Regions from separate parts of the Homo sapiens genome. Here regions 2, 3, 4, 5, 6 and 7 are each linked to region 1. Evidence: promoter capture Hi-C in 16 types of primary human blood cells and fetal thymus (Javierre and others, 2016). All regions are on one chromosome and are shown on one strand. Each heading gives the region's core, a stretch centred on a gene start or on the middle of the fragment in contact. The rest is flanking DNA. Distances are from core to core; before and after follow the strand shown. Region 1 holds the start of FER (FER tyrosine kinase). Region 2 has its middle 37 kb from the start of MAN2A1. Region 3 overlaps LOC105379117 (a long non-coding RNA gene). Region 4 overlaps LOC105379117 (a long non-coding RNA gene). Region 5 overlaps LOC105379117 (a long non-coding RNA gene). Region 6 overlaps PJA2 (praja ring finger ubiquitin ligase 2). Region 7 overlaps PJA2 (praja ring finger ubiquitin ligase 2).

Region 1 (3,300 bases), core at 394-2,893:
GCAGCATAGATTTTTGCCACATTCATTTACTTCAAGTATATTCTTTCACAACTGCATTTCCTAGCACAATGACTGGCATATGGTAGACAGCTTTTAAGGTTTTGGAATGAATAGGTGAGAACTCAGAGAACAATTGTAGATATGGAAAGATTCTTGCTGATTTTTCTAGATTTGGGTTCCTTAACACAAACACACATGTTGTGTATCAAACAGCTCTATTTCTACCATATCTTTATTGAAAGCTACTTTCTGCAAATATGTAATAACGTATTCACCAACCACATCTTTCTACATTTTGATTCCCTTTGTATAAATGGAGAAATTCTAAGGTTCTTGGGAAAGGTATTCAGTCATGAAGCAGTCTCCAAAGTTGTATTTTGGCCTTACCTAACCAAATTTTCATTCATTTCATTCTTATTGACATTACATATACTATAACATTTGATGTTCACAGAAAATTAACTTCTATTTTAAGAAGTTTACTCACAGAACCACAGTTTGTGCATTTAACAATCACTATGAAATACATATGAAACATTAACCATCATTTTAGAGAACAATTTAAAAACTCCGAAGTAACTACTTTCCTTAACTTTGTCATCCCAACATTCTGGGTATAGGCATTGTTGGAAAAATATAATTAAAAACCAAAATCTCCCAACCCAGAAATCCTCTCCACAAACGTTAGTAGACAAAACACTTTTATTACTGAATAAGCATTAAACGAGACTGTGATACACATCACAGGCAATTTGCTAAGAGATTGCAAAGACAGAAATCTTGCCCTTTTGTATAGCCAAGTATATACGACCCATTACATACACGTTTTCAAGTTGAACAATAACTAGTCCTCAAGTAAGAGGACCTGACATTTGTGACATTAACTTTACTTAATAATTGGGGTGACCATCTGTGTTAGTTAATTGGTTTTATCCAGAGGAAAAACAAACTTCTCCTGTCTTTATGACGGAAGGTAGTTTTGCAACACGGAGCAAGTTGCTCACCGAAGTTACGCTCCTACTCTCTCACAGAAACTGGGAGATAGGGAAGGATGCTACTCCGTTGATATGTGCAGCATTTCAAAAAAAAAAAAAAAAAAAAGGTCCAGAGACATTCCTGACTGAGCATACAGTTGACAAGACCTATCTAGTCCTCAAGTGGATTTATACACATTTCAAAGAGTTGAGAAAGTACTTAACAATTAAGAAAGTACTTAAGTTTTCTAAGACAAATGCTCGGAGAGAAAGGGACGGGAAATCTCATCCTCCATTTTCAATAGGGAGAATTAAGCCTCTTATTTAAAATTTTTATGTTGGTTTTTGTTTATTTAGCTTTAAAACAGTAGACTTAAAAAAAGTCCAACTTAAGATTTATGTTTTTTTATGTGTAGGGCTGTTCTCTACGGTTAAATAAATAACCCTGCTTAGAGAAAATATTCACCACTCTTCTTTGGCTCCTATGTAACTCAGTTTTTGAGAGGGAGGGGAAATACCGGATTGACGCTATGTGGTTCAACCAATGCAAAAGATAACACCGCCTTAAAAAGTCTACTACAGGAACATGGGAGGGTCACACCCTCGAATAATGACGCATACCTATCCTACTGTTACTGATCACCTAGTAATAATCTTGTAGTTCACATTACTCATTTTTCACCAAATTCTTTTGGTGAAGGACGCTTCAGAAACGGCCATCACTGAAGAGCAGACCCGTTTGGGTTCTCCACGCATTCTAGACTCCCGAAGAGGTAAGAATTTATTATAGGGGGCCACTCCCAGGACCTGCTGTATGCTTTTAAACATCCATTACAATTCCAGCATTGAGTTTCTAACATTTTTAGGCAGGCTCAGGCACTGGGAGTACAGGATTGAAAGACAGTTCCCGTCCTTAAGGGACTCAGAGTAAACTGGAGTTGCTGAAAACCATTCTAAAGCAATCCACGTTAATAACAGATACAAGTAAAACGTGGGAACGTACAGGAAAAAGTGACCAATTCTGAGGCTGAAAAGTGCCTATTTTAGGGGTGGGGGCCTCGCGGCCCTAAAGCAGCTTCCCTTCCCGGAGATTTCAGCTCCAGGGATCGCCCAGCGCCCTCCGGGCACACTTAACATTTTAATCACGCCTCCGCCCCCACTCTCCGAATTCCTTTCCGGCTGCCGACCCGCCGAGTAGTCCCTTCCAGGCGGCCTCAGCTTATCATCGCCGGTCCGGCCACTTCCCGGCCGCGGCCAGGCGAGCCTCCCAAAGTTTCCTGTGAGGCCTTCGTCCGTCTCCGGCCCCATCTCACCACGGCAGCCCAGGACACCCGCTAGGGAGGAGCAGGTTACCGAGGCGGGGAGAGCGGCACAAACGCGCAGACCTCGGGACTCCACCCGGGCTGGTGAGCGAGCCCAGAAAGCGGCGACCGCAGCTCCGCGTCTCCACTCCCAGGGCCCGCAGCTTGGGCTAAGCGTGCGCCCACCCAGCCTAGGGCCCAAGTCCTGCCCCTTCGGGGACCGGGCCAATCGGCCGCTCCCCGCCTCCTGGGAGGTAGTGGAGGAGGGGGCTGAGGGCCGGGCGGCTGCGCCCGCCTTCCGCTCTTGCCCATTGGCTGAGGCCTCGAGGGTGCCCGGAGACCGGAGTGCAGCGGGATTGGTTGCAGAGGTTCGTGACAGTGGCGCCTATTGGCTGTGGCAGCCCCCGTGACGCGGGGTGGTGACTGGCTCCGGAGTCTGAGGGGTTCGGGCTTGTCAGGTTCTAGGTAGGTGCGTTTCGCGCCGCCGGCGGTAGGCGCTGTTGCCCGGGGCAACGCGGGGGGAGGGGGGAAGAGGAGGGAAGGCAAGCCTAGAGCGGGGGCAACAATGCCTGCCCGCAGAGGGGCGCCCGGGATTCGGCCAGGGCGTTGGGGGCTGTGCCGAGGCTCTTCCTCCGCCCTCAGCCAGCGCCCCCCCCAACCCCCGTCCCTGGCTGCAGGGTCATCCGCTCATCCTCCCGCCCGCAGCAGAGCATTCCTGGTTGGGGCTTGGGCCGGGCTACACACCCAGCCCCACGAGGGCCGCCCCTCCCACCATCCCGGGACCCGAAGGCTGAGGGGGCGGGTGCCGGCGCGAAAGGGCTGTGGCGGGCGTAGTGGCTCCGCCCCGTCGCGGGGTCTGGGGGCTGATGGGCGTGAGGCGGGGTGGTGGGGGGACTGTGGGCACCACCCAATCTTGCCTGTACCCTCACCCCTTTTCTCGGCGGCACTCATCTGGGCGCCGCCGTCCCGCTACGGGGGCATTCTCAACCCCTGGTATTCCCCCCATCCCTTCCTGCTTCTGGAGC
Region 2 (3,300 bases), core at 534-3,033, 900 kb after region 1:
GACATTTACAACGTGCCAGGTACTGTTTTAGGTACTTAATGGATATTCACCAAGGGGAAAATAAAAACAGTGAACAACCACTAAAAGGCATTCATGAAAATAATCAAAGTAATATACATTTGCGTTTGTGCTACAATTGTGACTATATAAGATATGTATGCACCAGGCTCAAGAATGCAATAGCAGATACGCAACGGAAAATAATTATATTGGTATCCAGAAAGACAGTCGATTTTTTTCAACTTTTCAACAATTTTCCTTGATGTTGATTTTATGTTGATTTTATAATTTAAAGAAAACAAACAAAAATAGTAGTCAAATTAGGCTCTCCAGGTAACTTGTTTGAACTGTATGTTGTGAGGGTCTCTGATTTTTTTATGTAGTGGGGTGTAATTTTTTTTCTAATTTTAATTAGGAACTTGGATTATCAGAGTATTGGAACTTAGTGTCATTTGGAATAACAGCTGGGCATGATTGTAGTAATAAATATATAAAGAAGAGGAAAATCTAGCTTCTAAAAGAAGCCTCTATTGAATTTTGATGTTCATTTGTTATATTGTCAAATTGTAATTTCTAATTATGGGGGGGGATAAGTGGATACTGTAGCCAAGAATTACAAAATAGGGCTATGCATTGAAGTATATTCTCATATACTCTTGTCTAACTGAATTTATTATTTGAGACATTGTTGTAGAAACCATCCCAGGTTGCCCAAAATTTATGTTAATGTATTGTTTCTGAAGAGCCTTTATGCATATGTTAGTTATGCTATTTAACCAGTCAAACATTATGTGTTATTGGCAAATAGATGATGATAAACTACTATATTTGAGTTTTGTGCTTTCTGTCCTTTACCATCATCTTTTCATCTGTGTGAATAGCAGCGGATATAGGCTCATCCTTGAGGCTAAGTGCCATCTCATCTAGGTTGTTGGTTTTTTGTGTCATTTATTTAACAAGCAAAGATCTTGTACTGTTTTATTTATATATTTTGTATTAATGAAAGAATTAATATATTATCACCACCAACTCATTTGACCAATTTCTCATTATGAATTTGCAACATTTCTGACTATTAAATGCCTTCAAGCATTACATAAACAATTTCCAATTGAGCAGGTCTTCAGGAACTTTTATGTAGTACCAAACATCACTTTTAATGTTTTTTAGTTAAGTGTGTAGAGGTTTTTGTGCTATCCCTGAAAACAATCTGGTGGTTCATTTTACTGCATCTAGAAAGAATTCAGTCTCATACTATGGTTAAAAAAATAAATAAAATGCACAGAATGAGAAGCATTTCCACGAGTAATTTCACACATGCTGCTAAGTACTGCAGAGTATTGCCAAGCCTAGCCTTTAATCTCTATGGGAAGCCATACAGCTGTAAACTCTTATTTGCTGTCACATGTCTTTTGCAAGGTTATTAGAAAAGATAGGAGACCAGAAGTCCTTCCATGTTACCTTACTTTATTTTTTGACCAGGTTTTATTACATTATCCCTTTATATCTGTTGATAGCTCAACATGTGCATATTTCACCAGCCTCAGGCAAAATTATGAAGTAGGATTCATGAGGCTTTGGTGTTCTTCCCACTCTGCCTTCTGGGTCCTCGCCTGCATTCTCTCCCCGGAAGTTTCTCACTTTCTGAACCCAGCCCCTGCTCTCTGTCCAATCTACTTATTGACAATTTTAAGGGTGTATTTTCGGCCAAATGCAGACCAACGTGGTCCATTCATGGATCACCGTGTTTTGTCTCCCAGGTAAGAATCTCATGTGATAAAACTTGGGCTTGCTGAAGTGGTCTATCTCTTGGAGTGGGGATGCATACTTCTAGATCTTCAGCAGGCTCTAAATTTGCTTCAGCCTGTCTTCTTGCAAGACTCAATAGATGTGCTTTGGAGTATTACTGAATTCCTTTGCCTTGACTTCTGTCACTCTGGGCTAAAACTCAAACTGCCGTGCAGTTTCTCAGCTTTGATGTTCCCCTCCTAGTACTGGAAACCGTTCCTGAAATCCTTTAGAACTTGTAAGAAATAATAATTTCCACTGTTAACTATGTGAGGAGGGTAGGGTGAGTGGGGTAGGGGATGGTTTCAGCAGTGTGCTGAGCCTGGAGAACTGATTGTTAAATTTTCAGGAATTTTGTGAGCCAATTCCCATCACCTTGATAGCTTACAATCAGCCACAGGTGGGAGAATTTACACCACGAACTGGCAAACTAGCTGTCCCCCACCTCTAGCCAGTGTAAGAAGAGCCAAGATTGGCATGAAAAGCAGTGTTACTGCTTCCTCTCCACACCATGCTCTCAGTGTGTCTAGCTGGCCTGCATCCATATTTCTCACTCTTGGACCCCTCCTTGCTTCGCACATTAAGCATTCATTAAGAATTTATTGAATGAATGAATCAGTTTGAGACAGAGGATTTTTTTTACACAGTGTGTGCTAGTTGTTCTGATCTTTGCCAAAATGTCAAAAAGTCAAGGCCTCTTCCCTCCTTGCTCCTATTTGCCTATTTAGAAGTTCCCATGGTTAATTGCCTCCTCGCCTACGACTTCTATCGTTCTTTTATTCCTGGAACTAGAGTTCACTATCCACTGTATTGCCCCCTTGCTCACTCATATCCTATAGGATATATTCTAATAAGGTTAGGAAGAAAGAATAAAGGAATTTTAGCTTTTCAGAAAACCTGGTTTCTAGTCTCAATTCAGCCACATGATATCCTTGTGACCTCAGAGAACACACGGCCTCTCAGATCCACAGTGCCTTCATGTGTAAGTGAAAATGTTGTTACTGCTATGCTCACCTCAGGTGGGCTCCCGAGGATCAAAGGAGTTGGTGCATGTGACAGGGCTTTCTAGACTATAAAGTGCTCCACAAATGTTAGTTCTTGTTAAAAGTAGACAGACGCAATGAAGTATCATTGACTTCAGAAACAACAAGAGTTAGTTGAAATCTACCTCTATGATTGTAAGCAAAACTCACCTTTCCTGAATTTCTGTTTCTTCATCCTCAAAACAGAAATAATACCCACTAACACTCAGGGTTGTCAGAGTTCAGTGACACAATGTCAACAAAGGGCCTGACTAGCACAGTTTCCCAGTAACCTCTTCTCTTCTCTGATTTCCTGGCTCAAATGTCTTTGGGATGATATTATCATCATTGTTATTGGTCCATCCTTAAGTTTCCCCTGTCCTCAAGAAAGTATATTTATATATTATTATTGGTTATGTGCAGGCTCTGGAGTAGGACTATCTGGCTTTAATCCTGGCTCTGCACTTGCTAATGCTGTGTTCTTGAGCAA
Region 3 (3,300 bases), core at 390-2,889, 750 kb after region 1:
ATTTTTTCCTTGAAACCCCAACACAGTTTTTCATCATTCTCATCAAAAGTATTTTTAAAGCACATTCTGTCCGTGTCACACAACAGAGATGGACAAAGACATGTGGCCCCTGTCTTAGACATCTTCTAGAATTGAGACTATCAGTTGTCCCACTAGAAAACTTGGTTTCCTCTTCTGAGAATATAATCTTGAAATACCTCTTGTATTAAACTGATATCTAACATTTCACCACTGAAATTTCATCCTAAGATGCAATCAACACTTTAAAAAGGTAATACACTACAAATTATATTACCAAATTTATTCTAACATGGTAGCTGGCTGAAAGTCTATTTGAACAGGAAAAGCTCAGAAAAAAAAGAGACACAAGTGAATAGAAAATGGGGAGGGTATATTAAAAGGGATTTTAGAACTAATAAGACTCAAGGTTATATTTTGGCCCTTCCATTTATTAATTGGTTAACTTTGGATACATGACTTCCTCCTTTTTAGCTCAGTTTCTTCATCTGTTAAAGTGGGAATAGTAAGCTTACCTCCCTGGAATGCTGTCGGATTTAAAGGAGCTGAGAAATGTGAAAACTGAACTGAAGTAGGTGCTGAAGGATCCCTAATTTTTTTGTAACTGAAGACAAACTTTGTCCCCTCTACAATTTTGACTGTAGGGCCAAGTTTTACTAACTGAGAGACCTCAACACCTATCCACAGATGTTTAAACAAAGTGCAGGATACATCTTTCCAGCCCCATCTCTTTACACGTTTCACCTTGCAGACTGAACTCTTGATGTGCAGCCTGCCATGGCTCTGCCTGTTCAGAAGGCAAGGAATATCACTGCTGTCTCCTTTTCACCAAAGTATGAGCTCGGTTTCTTCCAACAGCACCCTTGGTTGGCTTGATCTAGGGTATAGTCAAGAGGGATGGAGGGAAGAAGGTGGCAGTGACAGAAGAAAGGCTTTGTGCGACACAGCTCTGAGGTAGGTGTCCCAGGTAGATTGCTAGCGATGACCTCAATTGGAGAGGTCAAAGTAAAACTCCAGGGCTTTCCAGAGCCTGAACAGATTTATGAGGCCCAAAGCCCTATTGCCGTTGTTTCTAAGAGAAATAGCTCATCTGTAACAGCTGTGTCTGACTTCTAACCACCTCTTCACTGACCTGGAAAAGTATGGCTCTGGCTTCTGTTTGTCCTGCTGTGGTGCAAACGCCCACAAATACACATCGTAGTGTTGAAAGTCCTGGATAGCACTCTTAGGCAGCAGTTAAAGGAGGCTTGTCTTGCAAGCCACTTTTGGAATTCGATCGTGCTCCTTTTTTGTTATTGTTGTTAGAAGACAAAAACACAACAAAAAAGCAATACTTATTTTTCTCCTAGACCTTTTCATTGAGATTTGCTTTACTCATCTTCATCTATGTTTATATGTGTACTTCAATTTTGTCTCATTGTTTAAAACAACATTTACCAGAATGTGCTTCTGTCATTATCTACATGTTCTATTCTTTGGGGATTTCTTTTTATGAGTATCATCTCTGAATAATCAGGAAAAAATCCCACCAATTTGAAGATGCCACCTAGGAAACAGGTAAGCCCCATGTATCTTCCATTTGTTTTCTATAGTAATTGTTTTCTGTGCTTATGAGTAAGAATTTATTGATGTTTCAAAGCCGGTTGGCAATATACACAATCAGTTTGTTATTTTACAGTCATATTAATTTGACTCAAACAGCAGCACCCAGTTTGATCCTGACCTTATTCACCAGGTATTAATATAAAATTATCTTTTCTTGATATTTTGGGGAATACAAACCATGAATTTTTAGGATGTGGTCTCTGAGTTCTAGAAGTTTATACTCTAGTGGTGTAAGTAGGGTATCTAATGAGGAATTGAATTATTTTCAAAAATCAAGATTTGTTCAGTTTGAGGGTATTCAAAAGTATAAGTTTGACTTTTTTAGATTCTATGATCATAGTTAATAGTAATGTATATTTCAAAATTGCTAAAAGAGATTTTAAAAGTTCTCACCACAAAAAAGTAGAGAAGGTGATAGATATGTTAATGAATTTGATTTAATCATTCCACAATGTATACATATATCAAAACATCACGTTGTGTCTCATAAATGTGTACAATTATTTGTTCATTTTAAAAAGTATTAAATGCAGGCTGTGGATGAATGTGTCAACTGGAGACATATTTTGGTAGTTAAATATCAAGAGTTTTAAAAAATATACATTCTCTTTTTTCCAGAAATTCTACGAGTGGGAATTTTTTCCATCAAAATAAACAGATATGTGCAAAAATTTATGTACAAGTTTACTCAGCTACTGTGTTATTTATAAAAGCAAACCATGGAAAGTATTGAGATATAACCGGCAATAAATTATCATATATCTTGAACATTGTGAAGCCATTGAAATGGTAGTAAGAATAACATTTAATGATAAGGAGAAGTATTTATATTAATTGAAAAATCAGGTTATAGAATATTTATAGTATATTTACAAATTTGTAAAACATATGTGCATATAAAGGTAAATGAGATAAAGTTTATACCTAAACATTTTAATAATTATTTTTGTGTGGTGGAATCAACATTAATTCTGTATGTGTTTCTGTATTTTCCAAAGTTTTTAATAATAAGTGTGTATATTTTATAATTCAAAAAGTCACAAATTGTTAAAAAATGGTTGGGCTTTTGAAGTATATTACAACATAGAAATTTCAAAAATGCTTTACCATGTTTAGATTATTACGTATTAAGCTTCATAGGATGATTATTGAAACTTTCTATGTTTTGTCATTCTCCAAATAGGTTTTTCTATACAAATTTATTTTATCCTTTTATTTACATTTAGGGGACATTTTCCCAAAGAAGATAGCAATCCAAATAATCTATAAGGAACCATCGGTGTACTTACTCTCTACAAAGCTCTCTGCTGCCAGCTGTGAAGAATATGAGACGGATGAGAAACATCCAGGCTGTCAGGGTACACAGAGATTGTCCAAGGTTATCCATCTATTCAGAGGCAGAGCCAGGAATTAACAAACGAGACACAGCTGGAAGCCAGGGATCCTTAAATCCCACTGTTGGCTTGTACTAAGTCAGGTATCTCTGCTCACCATGTGAGCATCCACTTCTCTCCTGCCATGCATCATACTGGTCCTGGAGACAGACAAGAGTTTTACCAACCATCACCAACCCAGATCTCCTCTTCCCTGTGAGTGCTGTTCCACTGAGGCTTGTCACTGTCTTCATCCTTGCCTCATCCTTTTTTCTTTTAATTTTAATTTTTGTTAAGGTTAATC
Region 4 (3,300 bases), core at 482-2,981, 730 kb after region 1:
ATCCTAAGAGTCTATACCATGAGGACTACTTTATATTTAAGGATCCTTTAACATAAGGCCTATTTTTATATCTTACTAATTAGAATTCTTTTTTGTGTGGGAAATAACAAAATCTTATGCATAATTCAACTCAATTTCAAAACAAATAGGGACAACTTGCTAATCACTTGAAAAAAGTATAAAGTTTAAAATACACTCAAGATGAATTAAAAATGTAAATCTATACAACCAGGCTTTAAAAGTTTAGAGTGAAATATATATGAAAGCTTATTTAATTTTTTGGTGGGGAAGACTTTTCTGATGATAGATGGAACCTCTAAGTGTAAAGGTTGATTAAAATTTCTATAGAACATTTAAATACTAAATTAAAGTGACAGTGTAATATCTCTGGTAAAAGTTTTTTAAATGACACTACCCTATGTTAACATAAGTTAAGGGTGAATACATAAAAAACAGGCATTCTTATTTTGCTACTTGGGAATACATTTGGAATAAACTTTATCAAGGGACATTTGGCAATGCTATTGAAAGTCTTAAAATATGCATAGTCTTTGCCCCAGAAATCCACTACTCAGAATGATTATAGGGATACAACAAAGAAATAGTCACAAGATTGTTCTTCATAGCACTTCATAGAACTATTGGTAAAATATTACACATTAGGAAAATGTAAATGTCCACCAAGAGGTGAATTGGGAAACTAAGAGTGTAGTTATTAACCATACATTGTTATTAACAGTTATTATGTTGTTATTAACCCTAATGTTACAGAAAAATTGTGGAAGACATTTAAAATACTTTTTACATATTTAATTATGTAATTACTCAATTAAGTGGAAAGATATTCTCAGAATAGTGTTAGATGAAAAGCAGAGTTTCAAATCAGTATATTTTCATTTTTTACAATATTTGTTTCCTTCCTTATGCAAAATACAGAATGACGACACTCAACAGGGGTTCTATCCTGAACATGATATAGGCTGAATGTTGTTTCCTCCCCAGATTCATATGTTGAAGCCTGAACCACCAATATAACAGGGTCTTTGGGAGGTAATTAAGGTTAAAACAGGTCATATGGGTGGGACCTTCAGGATGGAAATAATGCTTCTAAGAATGCTTCAGAGAGCTTCTGGGTACACACTCACCCCACCCTCTCCCTACTCTGCCCCGTGTAAGAACACAGCAAGAAGGTGGCCACCCATAAGCCAGGAGGAAAGCCCTCATCAAGCAAATTGACTGGTGCCTTGATCTGGGACTACTAGCCTCTAGAACTGAAGAAAGTAAATGTCTGCCGCTCAAGCCACTTGGTCTACGTTATTTTGCTATGGCCTCCTGAGCAGACTAATATACATGAGGTAATGAGTAATTTCTTTTTTTGCTTATCTAGGTTTCTAAATTTTTTGTCATAAACATACTGCATTTGTAATTTTAAAAGATATTTTAAAATCAAATAATATTAGAGAAACTCTCCAGCATATACAGATGTTTCAGTGAAAAACTCATCATTAGTTAAATCAGTTATTTGAAGCTGGTTTGTGATTACCTTGACATATTTTTATTAATTCTCTCCATACACTAATTATTTGGCTTATAATTAAATTTACAAAGCAGATTGACTCCTTAGCTATGAATATCAAAGATTGATAAGGTTTCTAAATACACTACTGAAGAATAGGTTTATTTTCCTCCCATCTAACTATTTTGCAGTTATTATTTGGAAACACTGACCATTTTAATCATTATTTTTTAAATTAGAGTGAGTAATTAGCATTCTGCCTTAGGTTTGGATGACTAATAATGGTGAAATTATATATGATTTTCTTGCATTCCAAGACCTTTTATAATTAATTATCTTATCCATGCATCCTATTTCCCTCTTATGCCATCAAATTTCTGAGAAACATGCCGGGTGTGGTGGCTCACACCTGTAATCCCAACACTTTGGGAGGCCGAGGCGGGCAGGTCACTTGAGGTCAGGAGTTCGAGACCAGCCTGGCCATCATGGTGAAACCCTGTCCCTATCAAAAATAAAAAAATTAGCCTGGCATGGTGGGGTACGCCTGCAGTCCCAGCTAGTCAGGAGGCTGAGGCAGGAGAATTGCTTGAACCCAGGAGGCAGAAGTTACAGTAAGCCAAGATCATGCCACTGCACTCCAGCCTGAGCTACAGAGCAAGACCCTATCTCAAAAAAAAAATTCTAAAAAAACAATATATTCCTTTTTCTGTTGTTACAATTATATCTAACCTTATACCAGAGGAGAAGTAATGAACCTGCCACCCCATGACAGTATGTGATATTTAGTAATACACACACACACACACTTTAATTTTTATCATCTTTATAGCCCCATGCTAATGCTGGGTATATTGGAGAGGGAAGAAAGGAAGGGAGTGGGACTACATGTTTCATGAATGGCAAGGTTTCTTTGTGGCAGCAAAGGGTTTGAGCAGTCCTGGAATCTGGGAAATGTGGAGTCCTTCATCAGCATGCCAAGAAGTACTTAATGGCAGAAATTTCTCCTTAGAGACAGAAATTCACAGTCAGTGTATACAGAACACTCAAAATGACTGACCCTATAATGTTCATTCATCACTTGAGCTACTCAATGTCTTTGAACATGCATCCTACACTGTGATAATTTCATACATAATGTGTCTCACCTTCCTAAAGTGGGAGCCAGAAAATTTCCATTCCCAAACCCCTTGTATTAGGGTATAGTCATGTGACCTCACTCACTCTAATCGGACTGTCCCTGAAAGACAGATTTGAATTAAACAAGGAGCAATGAAAGTTTTATTAGGGTTGGGTTTTATTTTGTTTTGTTTTGAGGAGGAAGGGAGTGTTAGCACTGGGATGACATACTGGGAAGATGCTGGGTCTGACGTGCAGACCCTGACCCAGTGACGGATGAAAGACATACACTGACACAGATATTTTGCCTGTCAGAGCAGCTAAGGGGCTTTGCTGCCTGAGTCCACAGCTTTGGCCCCGACAAGCTGGTGAAGTTCGCATTTATTTAGTACAGATTAAATGACAAATGTCTCCAGTAAACAACACTAGAGGGTAATTAACATTGCCAACCTCCTGCGTAAAGAGCAGTCATGTGCCTGCCGATGATCAAAGGTTGGTCTTAGGACCACATGAGTAAGCAAGCTATTTAGGTAAACTCCTCTACATTCCTATGTATCTACACCCTAAGCTTTTAAGAGAATTCAGCTGCCTTCAGCCAAATCTTTTACTGAACCTATGCAAACCTCCCGGCCTTCCAAGAAGGTTTGTGTCTATTTCCTATAACTTTA
Region 5 (3,300 bases), core at 242-2,741, 720 kb after region 1:
TGAGAACTACAAACCACTGCTCAATGAAATAAAAGAGGATACAAACAAATGGAAGAACATGTCATGCTCATGAGTAGGAAGAATCAATATCGTGAAAATGGCCATACTGCCCAAGGTAATTTATAGATTCAATGCCATCCCCATCAAGCTACCAATGACTTTCTTCACAGAATTGGGAAAAACTACTTTAAAGTTCATATGGAACCAAAAAAGAGCCCACATCGCCAAGTCAATCCTAAGCCAAAAGAACAAAGCTGGAGGCATCACACTACCTGACTTCAAACTATACTACAAGGCTACAGTAACCAAAACAGCATGGTACTGGTACCAAAGCAGAGATATAGATCAATGGAACAGAACAGAGCCCTCAGAAATAATGCCGCATATCTACAACTATCTGATCTTTGACAAACCTGAGAAAAACAAGCAATGGGGAAAGGATTCCCTATTTAATAAATGGTGCTGGGAAAACTGGCTAGCCATATGTAGAAAGCTGAAACTGGATCCCTTCCTGACACCTCATACAAAAATTAATTCAAGATGGATTAAAGACTTAAACGTTAGACCTAAAACCATAAAAACCCTAGAAGAAAACCTAGGCATTACCATTCAGGACATAAGCATGGGCAAGGACTTCATGTCTAAAACACCAAAAGCAATGGCAACAGAAGCCGAAATTGACAAATGGGATCTAATGAAGCTAAAGAGCTCCTGCACAGCAAAAGAAACTACCATCAGAGTGAACAGGCAACCTACAAAATGGGAGAAAATTTTTGCAACCTACTCATCTGACAAAGGGCTAATATCCAGAATCTACAATGAACTCAAACAAATTTACAAGAAAAAAAACAAACAACCCCATCAAAAAGTGGGCAAAGGACATGAACAGACACTTCTCAAAAGAAGACATTTATGCAGCCAAAAAACACATGAAAAAATGCTCATCATCACTGGCCATCAGAGAAATGCAAATCAAAACCACAATGAGATACCATCTCACACCAGTTAGAATGGCAATCATTAAAAAGTCAGGAAACAACAGGTGCTGGAGAGGATGTGGAGAAATAGCAACACTTTTACACTGTTGGTGGGACTGTAAACTAGTTCAACCATTGTGGAAGTCAGTGTGGCGATTCCTCAGGGATCCAGAACTAGAAATACCATTTGACCCAGCCATCCCATTTCTGGGTATATACCCAAAGGATTATAAATCATGCTGCTATAAAAACACATGCACAAGTATGTTTATTGCAGCACAATTCACAATAGCAAAGACTTGGAACCAATCCAAATGTCCAAGAATGATAGACTGGATTAAGAAAATGTGGCACATATACACCATGGAATACTATGCAGCCATAAAAAATGATGAGTTCATGTCCTTTGTAGGCACATGGATGAAGCTGGAAACCATCATTCTCAGCAACCTATCGCAAGGACAAAAAACCAAACACTGCATGTTCTCACTCATAGGTGGGAATTGAACAATGGGAACACATGGACACAGGTAGAGGAACATCACACACTGGGGCCTGTTGTGGGGTGGGGGGAGGGGGGAGGGATAACATTAGGAGATATACCTAATGTTAAATGACGAGTTACTGGGTGCTGCACACCAACATGGCACATGTATACATATGTAACTAACCTGCACGTTGTGCACATGTACCCTAAAACTTAAAGTATTAAAAAAAAAAGAACAGCTGCTATGTGCCCTCTGTTCACAGCAGAAACACCCTGTTAAAATAAATAAATAAATAAATAAAAAGCCAGAAGTAGGAATTTTTATGAACTCTCCGAAGTTCAGTAAAATAACAGTACTGTACCTATTCTTTCGAAGAAGCATAAAAAATGTGATTTTCTTATATATGAACTTTTATGCAACTCCTAAAAGGATTTTCTAAGAACTTGAACTGTTTTAAACCTTTTTAAATGTAAGACTTTCTCTAATATCCAATCGTTAAGTTTCATACTTTTACCTCAGAGGGATCCTAAATGGATGTGTATTACATTTCAATTTAGTAATTCCAAAGATTGAGAAGGAGACATACTCCATCTTTAGAGTAGCCTTCAAAGGCTATTAGACATATAAGAGTCCTTAAACAAAACCTGCTAAAAGTCCAACATTTGATTCATTCTCTATTTTAGGCATAAATACGATTATAATTACAATATAACCTATATTTTATACAATTAAAGAGAAAATAAACTCATTTTCACAATTTTGATTTTCTTTTAAGAGGAAGTGTCAATCATATAATTTTTTCCATACTTATATTGAAAATTTGTTTCTGAATTGCATTAGGACAGGCTAGGCTATCCTGCTGTGATAGATATCCTGAAATCTCTATGACTTAACACAACAAAAGAACCTTTCCTTTTCATAAAAGTTCCAATGCAAGAAGGATTCTGTCTAGTATGTGGTGACTCCAGGATCCAGGTGGCTTCCATCTTGAAGTGCTGCACTCTCAACACGTGGCCTCAATTACTGTGGAAGAGGCACCTTTCCTTCTACTTACAGGCCATTGACCAGAATTAGTTGCATATTCTCTGGCCTAACTATAAGGAAAGTTATGAAATACTCTTTTCTCTTGTGTTCAGGAAAAGAAAATGAAACAGGATTAGGTGAACACAAAGCATTGCTTTTGCCACAGTTTTAAGTGTAGATTCTTTGAAAGTACTTTTTCTAATACCAGTTAACCTTGGAAAAGGAGAACCAAATTAGAGTTGTTACTCATCTCTGATTCCTCCTGAACGTGATGGAAACTTTGAACAAAGCATGTACTCACATGCAATTGGCCATCCAATCACGGAATTTGGAATGACCCTGGTTTATTATTACCTTCAAGATTTAATGTCATTTTTAAAATTTTGATTGGATATTGAAAATGGAGATGGATTAGAAATATAAGAATCTTATCAGTTCATAGTATTGCCAAGCAGAGTAAAAGTATCCCATCATGACTTCAGATTAGCTTTTTGAAAATATTACTATCAAAAATGGTTTGTATGTCTCTGATAATAAATATGGTCTTACAACTTCTACTTTATTAGCATTTGATGGAGCTGAGAACTTACATTAATAAAAATGAAATTATATCTAATAAAGTATAAATGTCACAAAGATAAATGAGGTATTTTCATAACTTAAAATTTTCTCTCTTCTTCAAGCATTTTTAACTTAAAATAAAAACCAAAACTTTCTCCAAATTTTATAGTTTCAGGTTATTTTGAACTCAACCAGAATTATTTCTTTAAAACAAAATCTTCCTTCTGAACTTTGAAGTGTAGTCAGAGAAG
Region 6 (3,300 bases), core at 497-2,996, 640 kb after region 1:
AAATGAATAAATGAATGAATGAAACAGTTACATAATTTCTTAGTTGTATTAAAATAAGAAATATAATCACTTCCAAGAAGGAAACAGAAACAAACATGTATTTATAATACACGCACATATCGAGTATAAATAATATCAAGTGTTACACTTATTTAATCCCATCAGTAATCTTGAGGTGGATATTGTATTCTATTTTAAAAATTGAAAAATTAAAGTTAAAATTAAGTGTTGGATAACTTGTCTAATAATCCAAAAGTATGACTCCAGAACCAATGCCCTTAACAATTCTACCAAAAGAATAGTCTCCGAAGTGGAAAGCATAAAGCTTTCCAAGCTAAATGGGTATGGAAAGAAAATACCAGAATTTCTATTTTTACCTATCAAAAATTAGAAACTAAGCTTTACAAATATTCAATATATGGATCAAAACCAGCCTTTTAGTAAGACCACAGGTCAGATGATCATATGTCACTTACTGGTACTCAAGGTACCCAGAGGAAAAAACAAGAAGTACTCAATGTAGAAGAACTGACTTTCCTTACCTGCTGGCTCCTTTTCAGTGTACTGTGACATATATGGCAGCGTCTGTGTGACCAGTTCAGTAGAATTATAGATGTGATTTAGTTTTTATTCACACTATGGACAAGCCGCAGAAGATTCCTACAAAGAAACAATGAATTGAACAATATATTAATAAAAGCACAAAAATAGCAAAACTGATACTTCTGCTCCTCCTAGTGAAGTCTTATAATAAAACTTAGAAAAATACAATGTGATGTAGCCAGCATGGTGGCAAATGCCTGTGATCCGCCTTAGATTACAGCACTTTGGCAGGCCAAGGCGAGCAAATCAGTTTGAGCTCAGGAATTCGAGAACAACCTGGCCAACATGGTGAAAGTCTGTCTCTGCAAGAAATACAAAAATTAGCCAGGCGTGGTGGTGCACACCTCTAGTCCCTCAGGAGGCTGTGGTGGGAGGATTGCTTGAGCCCAGGAGGTGGAGGCTGCAGTGAGCCGAGATCATGCCACTGCACTCCAGGCCTGGGTGACAAAGTGAGATCCCGTCCCAAAAATAAATAAAAACAAGAAAAATACAACACAATTTGACAAGCCAATCAAAAACTCTCAGAAATACCAAAATGGCTATGTGAAATACAGATTTACATCTGCTCTTGATAAACCTTGCCTAAGTATATATCATCCTTAAGACTGTCAATGACAACAACACATACATAATTTGTAAGTAAACAAACAAAAATATCAGAAGTACTGACTCAGGTATGTAACCAAACTATTTGGGAGTCTACTACACTGTGCTATCATTGCTTCTCTGTCAAGCAGTAAAGTTCCTTTAGCCCTGGAATTGCTAAAAGGTAACTGTAAGAATACAAACTTCATTTTTTAAAAATGTGTAATGGCTTATAACAATAATTAATGTGTGTAAATAATGATGTATTTATTCTTTGCAATAGTCAGTTGATCAGATAATTTAATCCCAAATAAGAACCTATTTTCAATCAGGAAAAACTACAATTTATCATGGAACAAATACAAAAAGAACTTCTGTTTTGAAATTAATGCATTTATTTACTATTTGAAAAGTACTATTTGAGAAGTTGCAACCTGTGGTTTTTTTGAAAGTTTGGTTAAGTTTTTATTTAAACACCTTATTTATTTAAACACTTGAGCTACTGCTAATTGCTCATCATTAATGCAATAGCTCTGCAAATGAGTTTAATTTATATGTTACCTGTCTAATCACAGACAGATATATATTAACATACGTAAGAGTACAAACCCACATTCACCCATATAATTTATAAATTCAGTAACAAGTTATGATCCTTTAAAGTATCTGAATCAAAAGAGGCTGTTAGCAACAGCTAAAGAGAAAAGGAATATAAAAATAATAATAATCTTAACATACTGGCAAAAACATAGGTGCTAATTAACAGTGTTTTAACTTTTTTTTTTTTGAGGGCGAGTCTTGCTCTGTCGCCCAGGCTGGAGTGCAGGGGCTTGATCTCGGCTCACTGCAACTTCCACCTCACGGGTTCAAGTGATTCTCCTGCCTCAGCCTCCCAGTAGCTGGGACTGTAGGCGTGTGCCACCATGCCCGGCTAATTTTTGTATTTTTAGTAGAGACAGGGTTTCACCATATTGGTCAGGCTGGTCTCAAACTCCTGACCACGTGATCCACCTGCCTTGGCCACCCAAAGTGCTGGGATTACAGGCATGAGCCACAGTGCCTGGCTGAAATGTGCGTTTTATTCTGAGATGGAAAACCATCAAAGTTCTGACCACAGAAGAGATATTTGACTTCTGTTTTAAGAAGAATGCTCTGGCTACTGTATTGAATAGCATGAAGAGGAATGAGGTCTAAAGCAGGGAGCACTGTTAAAAAGCTATCAAAATAATACTGGTAAGAGATCATAGTGGTTTGGACCAGGGTTAAAATAAAGATGGTAAGAAATGACCAGATTCTGGACATATTGTAAAAATACAATCAACAAAATTTACTAATATAGGATATGAAAGAAGGTCGAGGTTGACTCCAGGTTTTACAGGCTGGGCAATGGGAAAAATGGAGTAAATTTCAATTAATGTAGGAAAAATTGTGGAAGAGCCAGATTTGAAGAAAATATATTCAGTTCAGTTTTGGATGAGTTAAGTTTGAGATATCTATTAGACATTCAAATGGAAATATTAAATAGGAGTCTGGTGTTGACTGAAGAATTATGAGCTGTTAGTATAATTTGGGAGTTGTCAGTGTATAGATTATACCAAAACAGGTATGAACTTGGATGAGATCTCTAGGTGTACATGGAGAAGTGAAGTTAAGCCCTGAGAAAATCAAATATGAAGAGGCCAGGGAAAAAGAAGCAGAGATTGAGTATCCCTTTTCCAAAATGCTTGGAACCAGAAGTGCGGATTTGGGATTTTTTCAAATCTTTGAATATTTGCATATACATAATGAGATATCGTGGGGATGACATCCAAGTCTAAACAGAAAATTCACTTGTTTCCTACACATCTTACACACACAGTCTGAAAGTAATTTTATACAATACTTTTAATAATTGTGTGCATGAAATAAAGCTTCTGTTAAGTACTGATGTGTGGAATGTTAAAATTATGGTGCCATATTGGCAGTAAAAATGTTTCAGATTTTGGGGCCAGGTGCAGTTGCTCACACCTGTAATCCCAGCACTTTGGAAGGCCAAGGCAAGCAATCACCTGAGGTCAGTGAGACTCTGTCTCAAAAAAAAAAAAAAGTTTCAGATTTTGGAACATTTTTCAA
Region 7 (3,300 bases), core at 356-2,855, 620 kb after region 1:
TGTTTTCTCCTTCTGTAGGAGAAACGTAAGAAAAATCCAACCCTGACTACTTGAATTTTGAAACAATGCTCTTGAGTACTTTCCCTTCACAGTTTAAATCTGAATTCCTCAACCTGGCCTTCAAATCCCTACATAACACATGCTTTCTGCTCAGCCCACTTCTCCAACAGCATCTCTCATCACTCTTCCCCAGCTACTATGCTCCTACTGTTCTTCCTACTTTTGAAACACATGGAGATCATTTCTACCTTGGGGCCACTTCCTCTACCTAAAATGTTCTTGCACTGAATTTTTACTTTGCTACTTTCTTCTTGATGTTCATGTCAGATTCATAAGTCACCATCTCAGGGAGGCCTGTCTTGAACATTCAGTTTAAATAGCTCTCCAGTTACTGACTACCACATAACTCTGCTTATTTAAACTATAAAATTTATTTTTGTTTAACATTTTCTTATTTGTTTACTGTCAGTCTACTCCTACTAGAAACTAACTAAACAGGAACAGAGACACACAAATCAATGGTACAGATCAAGAAAATAAGGAGGAGATAAAGGAAGCATTTCAAAACAGGAAGAAAAAAAAGGACTCATTAGGCTAGGTGCAGTGGCTCACCCCTATAATCCCAGCACTTTGGGAGTCCGAGTCAGGCAGATCACTTGAGGCCAGGAGTTTGAGACCAGCCTGGACAACATAGTGAAACGCTGTCTCTACTAAAACTACAAAAAATTAGCTGGGTGCATGCCTAATTCCATCTACTCAGGAAGCTGAGGCATGAGAATCGCTTGAACTCAGGAGGCAGAGGTTGCAGTGAGCTGAGATCACACCACTGCACTCCAGCCTGGGCAACAAAGCGAGACTGTGTCTCAAAAAACAAAAACAAAAAAGGACTCATCAACAAAATGTACTGGGACAACTGGGTATTCGCCCGCAGGGAGGGAGGTTAAATCCCTTAAATAAACTTTAGCTATACTTTTTTGAAGTACATGTGTATATGCACCCCCCACCTCACTTAAACAATGAGTACGAGAATAGTCATGAGGAAATTTTATAAAAATTTCAGTGTCGGCCGGGCGCGGTGGCTCACGCCTGTAATCCCAGCACTTTGGGAGGCCGAGGCGGGCGGATCACGAGGTCAGGAGATCGAGACCATCCCGGCTAAAACGGTGAAACCCCGTCTCTACTAAAAATACAAAAAATTAGCCGGGCGTAGTGGCGGGCGCCTGTAGTCCCAGCTACTTGGGAGGCTGAGGCAGGAGAATGGCGTGAACCCGGGAGGCGGAGCTTGCAGTGAGCCGAGATCCCGCCACTGCACTCCAGCCTGGGCGACAGAGCGAGACTCTGTCTCAAAAAAAAAAAAAAAAAAATTTCAGTGTCATTCTAAGCATGATATAAAACCCTGAAGTCACAAAATTTGGACACAAAACTCAAACTGAGAAACGTGAACTACAATACAAGAGAGACAAAGGGCTTTTCCTTAATCAATAGAAGCTTAAAATGTAAAAAAAAAACTGTAAGAAAAACATCAATATATATCAACAGAAAGGAGGCAAAGGATATAATAATTAGCAGAAAAGGAAATTCAAATAGCCCTTAAATATATAAAGAGATGCTCTGCCTCATTTATAATAAGCAAAATGCAAATTAAAACAACTGAAATATGTTTCAACTATTAGCAAAAATAAAAAATTCTGATAATACCCTGTGTGTTGGTGAAGCTCTGAAGAAAGCTTTGAAGAAAGGCAATTCATATAGTGTTGGTAAGAAAGTGACTAATTTAAGTTCTTTGTAGAGAAACCCGGCAAAAGCTATAGATTAGGTTTATGCACACTCACTGACCTAGTGGTTCGGCTTCCAGTTATTTCTCCTAAACATGTACAATGTGTTTTTTATTTTTTCTTCAGCATTACTCACAATAGCCAAAACTGTCCACCAAATGAAACTGGTATACTCATGTAGTAGTATACAGTAAGTTCTGACTTAACTTTATACGAGCTTCTTAGAATATGTGACTTTAAGCAAAACAAGGTAGAACTATGCAGACTTAAAATGAATAAAGGAAATCTATATGAATATGGAACAATCTAAAAAACAGATCTATAAACAAAACAAATAACGAAACCAAGGTGTACACATATGTCTACACAATGTGCTACCGGTTGCATAAAAAATGAAATGGAACGTGTACACATATATGCTTTTATGTGTACGGAAGATCTTTAGAAGTTCAAAAAGGAAGCTGGTTATAATGGTTTTTAATTGGTCTTTCCATACTGTCTAAACTCACTTTTTATTGTTGTATGAATCCTTTTTTTTTTAAAACAACTGTAATTTCATCTGTTTATCAAGAGAAGTTCAACCAGAAATAGCTACCCAAGCAATAAACTGTTAGCAATTCATTAAATATTTCCAAAGCACTCAAACTTGTGTCATTAAATCTGTATTCACTCTTACTGGTATTTCAGAAACCATCCCTTTAATTATGCAAAGTACAATAGTGAAAAGAATTTTTTTAGTTTCATGAGTCATGTGACCAATTATTAAGGAGTCACACAGTTGTTTGTATATTTAGCCTAAAGATAGCTAAAACTAACAGATGTTTAGCAGATGCTTAACAAATTTTAAAACCTTGAAGGTTTTCTCAATTTCAACCAAAGTACAGGTTATTTTCTCCCTTTGGTCAAAGCTCTATTGGTGTCTATCTAGACAACTCAAGCTTTTGAAAATGTACTAATTTATTCCCATTTTTTATTCTTCTTTCTGTTCCATCCCAGATATTAGAACTTTTTTTGGGCTAGATTTAATTAGGTTGTCATAATTATGCAATTGACATTTGGTGTACTACATCATTCTGAATGAAATACATCATTCTGAATGCAAAATATATTAATTGGAAAGAGACTTGTGATCTACACACATCATGGTAATACAAAAACTACCTTACTAAATAGTCTGAATCACTGTTAGAAAATAAAATCCAGGTTAGAGAAAATAAATATGTAATCATAGATTCATCAAAACAAGGCTGCTAGCTCTAAGAGCAAGTCTAAGGATGAAAAATGTGTGAGCAAAACCATAATTTGGCACTACAGTAATGTAAAAGACTAATTTTTGAAAAACTGGGCTTCTTAAATTACCAACATTCAATATCTCTGCTCTTGCTTTTTCTTTTGCTTAGAAAGTTCTTTCTGAACCCTAATTCTCATCTTTAAGAACTCAGCTCAAAAGTCAATTCTAAAGAGACGTCATCCCTGACCACTTTAATATCTTCATCATTTACCTTCTTTCACATCACTGTTTTAT

The links. The method cuts DNA at HindIII sites, captures the fragments that hold promoters and counts their contacts. A CHiCAGO score of 5 or more calls a contact.
Region 2: a contact is called between a fragment that was not itself captured here and the fragment with the promoter of FER in region 1, in 1 of 17 cell types (monocytes). The highest score is 5.2, in monocytes.
Region 3: a fragment that was not itself captured here is called in contact with the fragment with the promoter of FER in region 1 in 1 of 17 cell types (monocytes); the score reaches 6.0 in monocytes.
Region 4: a contact is called between a fragment that was not itself captured here and the fragment with the promoter of FER in region 1, in 3 of 17 cell types (endothelial precursors, monocytes and erythroblasts). The highest score is 6.6, in endothelial precursors.
Region 5: a fragment that was not itself captured here is called in contact with the fragment with the promoter of FER in region 1 in 3 of 17 cell types (monocytes, total B cells and naive B cells); the score reaches 7.6 in monocytes.
Region 6: a fragment that was not itself captured here is called in contact with the fragment with the promoter of FER in region 1 in 8 of 17 cell types (naive CD8 T cells, total CD4 T cells, total CD8 T cells and 5 more); the score reaches 7.2 in naive CD8 T cells.
Region 7: a contact is called between a fragment that was not itself captured here and the fragment with the promoter of FER in region 1, in 1 of 17 cell types (total CD8 T cells). The highest score is 5.4, in total CD8 T cells.

What each region holds. Positions count from the first base shown.
Region 1 is chr5:108,746,254-108,749,553 of GRCh38, forward strand. It overlaps FER (FER tyrosine kinase), which reads left to right and starts at 1,644. Exons shown (of 20, transcript NM_005246.4): 1 at 1,644-1,747. RefSeq lists silencers at 2,411-2,510, 2,591-2,650, 2,781-3,190. The HindIII fragment of the contact is 11,506 bases long and covers 1-3,300 here.
Region 2 is chr5:109,650,955-109,654,254 of GRCh38, forward strand. No RefSeq gene overlaps it. Among named protein-coding and RNA genes, the nearest start is that of MAN2A1, 37 kb to the right of the region's middle. The HindIII fragment of the contact is 6,499 bases long and covers 1-3,300 here.
Region 3 is chr5:109,496,526-109,499,825 of GRCh38, forward strand. The region is part of intron 4 of LOC105379117 (a long non-coding RNA gene); the gene reads left to right. Among named protein-coding and RNA genes, the nearest start is that of PJA2, 88 kb to the left of the region's middle. The HindIII fragment of the contact is 2,227 bases long and covers 527-2,753 here.
Region 4 is chr5:109,479,837-109,483,136 of GRCh38, forward strand. All of the region lies in intron 4 of LOC105379117 (a long non-coding RNA gene), which reads left to right. Among named protein-coding and RNA genes, the nearest start is that of PJA2, 72 kb to the left of the region's middle. The HindIII fragment of the contact is 2,934 bases long and covers 265-3,198 here.
Region 5 is chr5:109,461,694-109,464,993 of GRCh38, forward strand. All of the region lies in intron 2 of LOC105379117 (a long non-coding RNA gene), which reads left to right. Among named protein-coding and RNA genes, the nearest start is that of PJA2, 53 kb to the left of the region's middle. The HindIII fragment of the contact is 4,316 bases long and covers 1-3,300 here.
Region 6 is chr5:109,382,861-109,386,160 of GRCh38, forward strand. It overlaps PJA2 (praja ring finger ubiquitin ligase 2), which reads right to left. Exons shown (of 10, transcript NM_014819.5): 2 at 543-660. The coding sequence starts at 573. Among named protein-coding and RNA genes, the nearest start is that of PJA2, 25 kb to the right of the region's middle. The HindIII fragment of the contact is 2,699 bases long and covers 398-3,096 here.
Region 7 is chr5:109,363,278-109,366,577 of GRCh38, forward strand. The region is part of intron 5 of PJA2 (praja ring finger ubiquitin ligase 2); the gene reads right to left. Among named protein-coding and RNA genes, the nearest start is that of PJA2, 45 kb to the right of the region's middle. The HindIII fragment of the contact is 239 bases long and covers 1,487-1,725 here.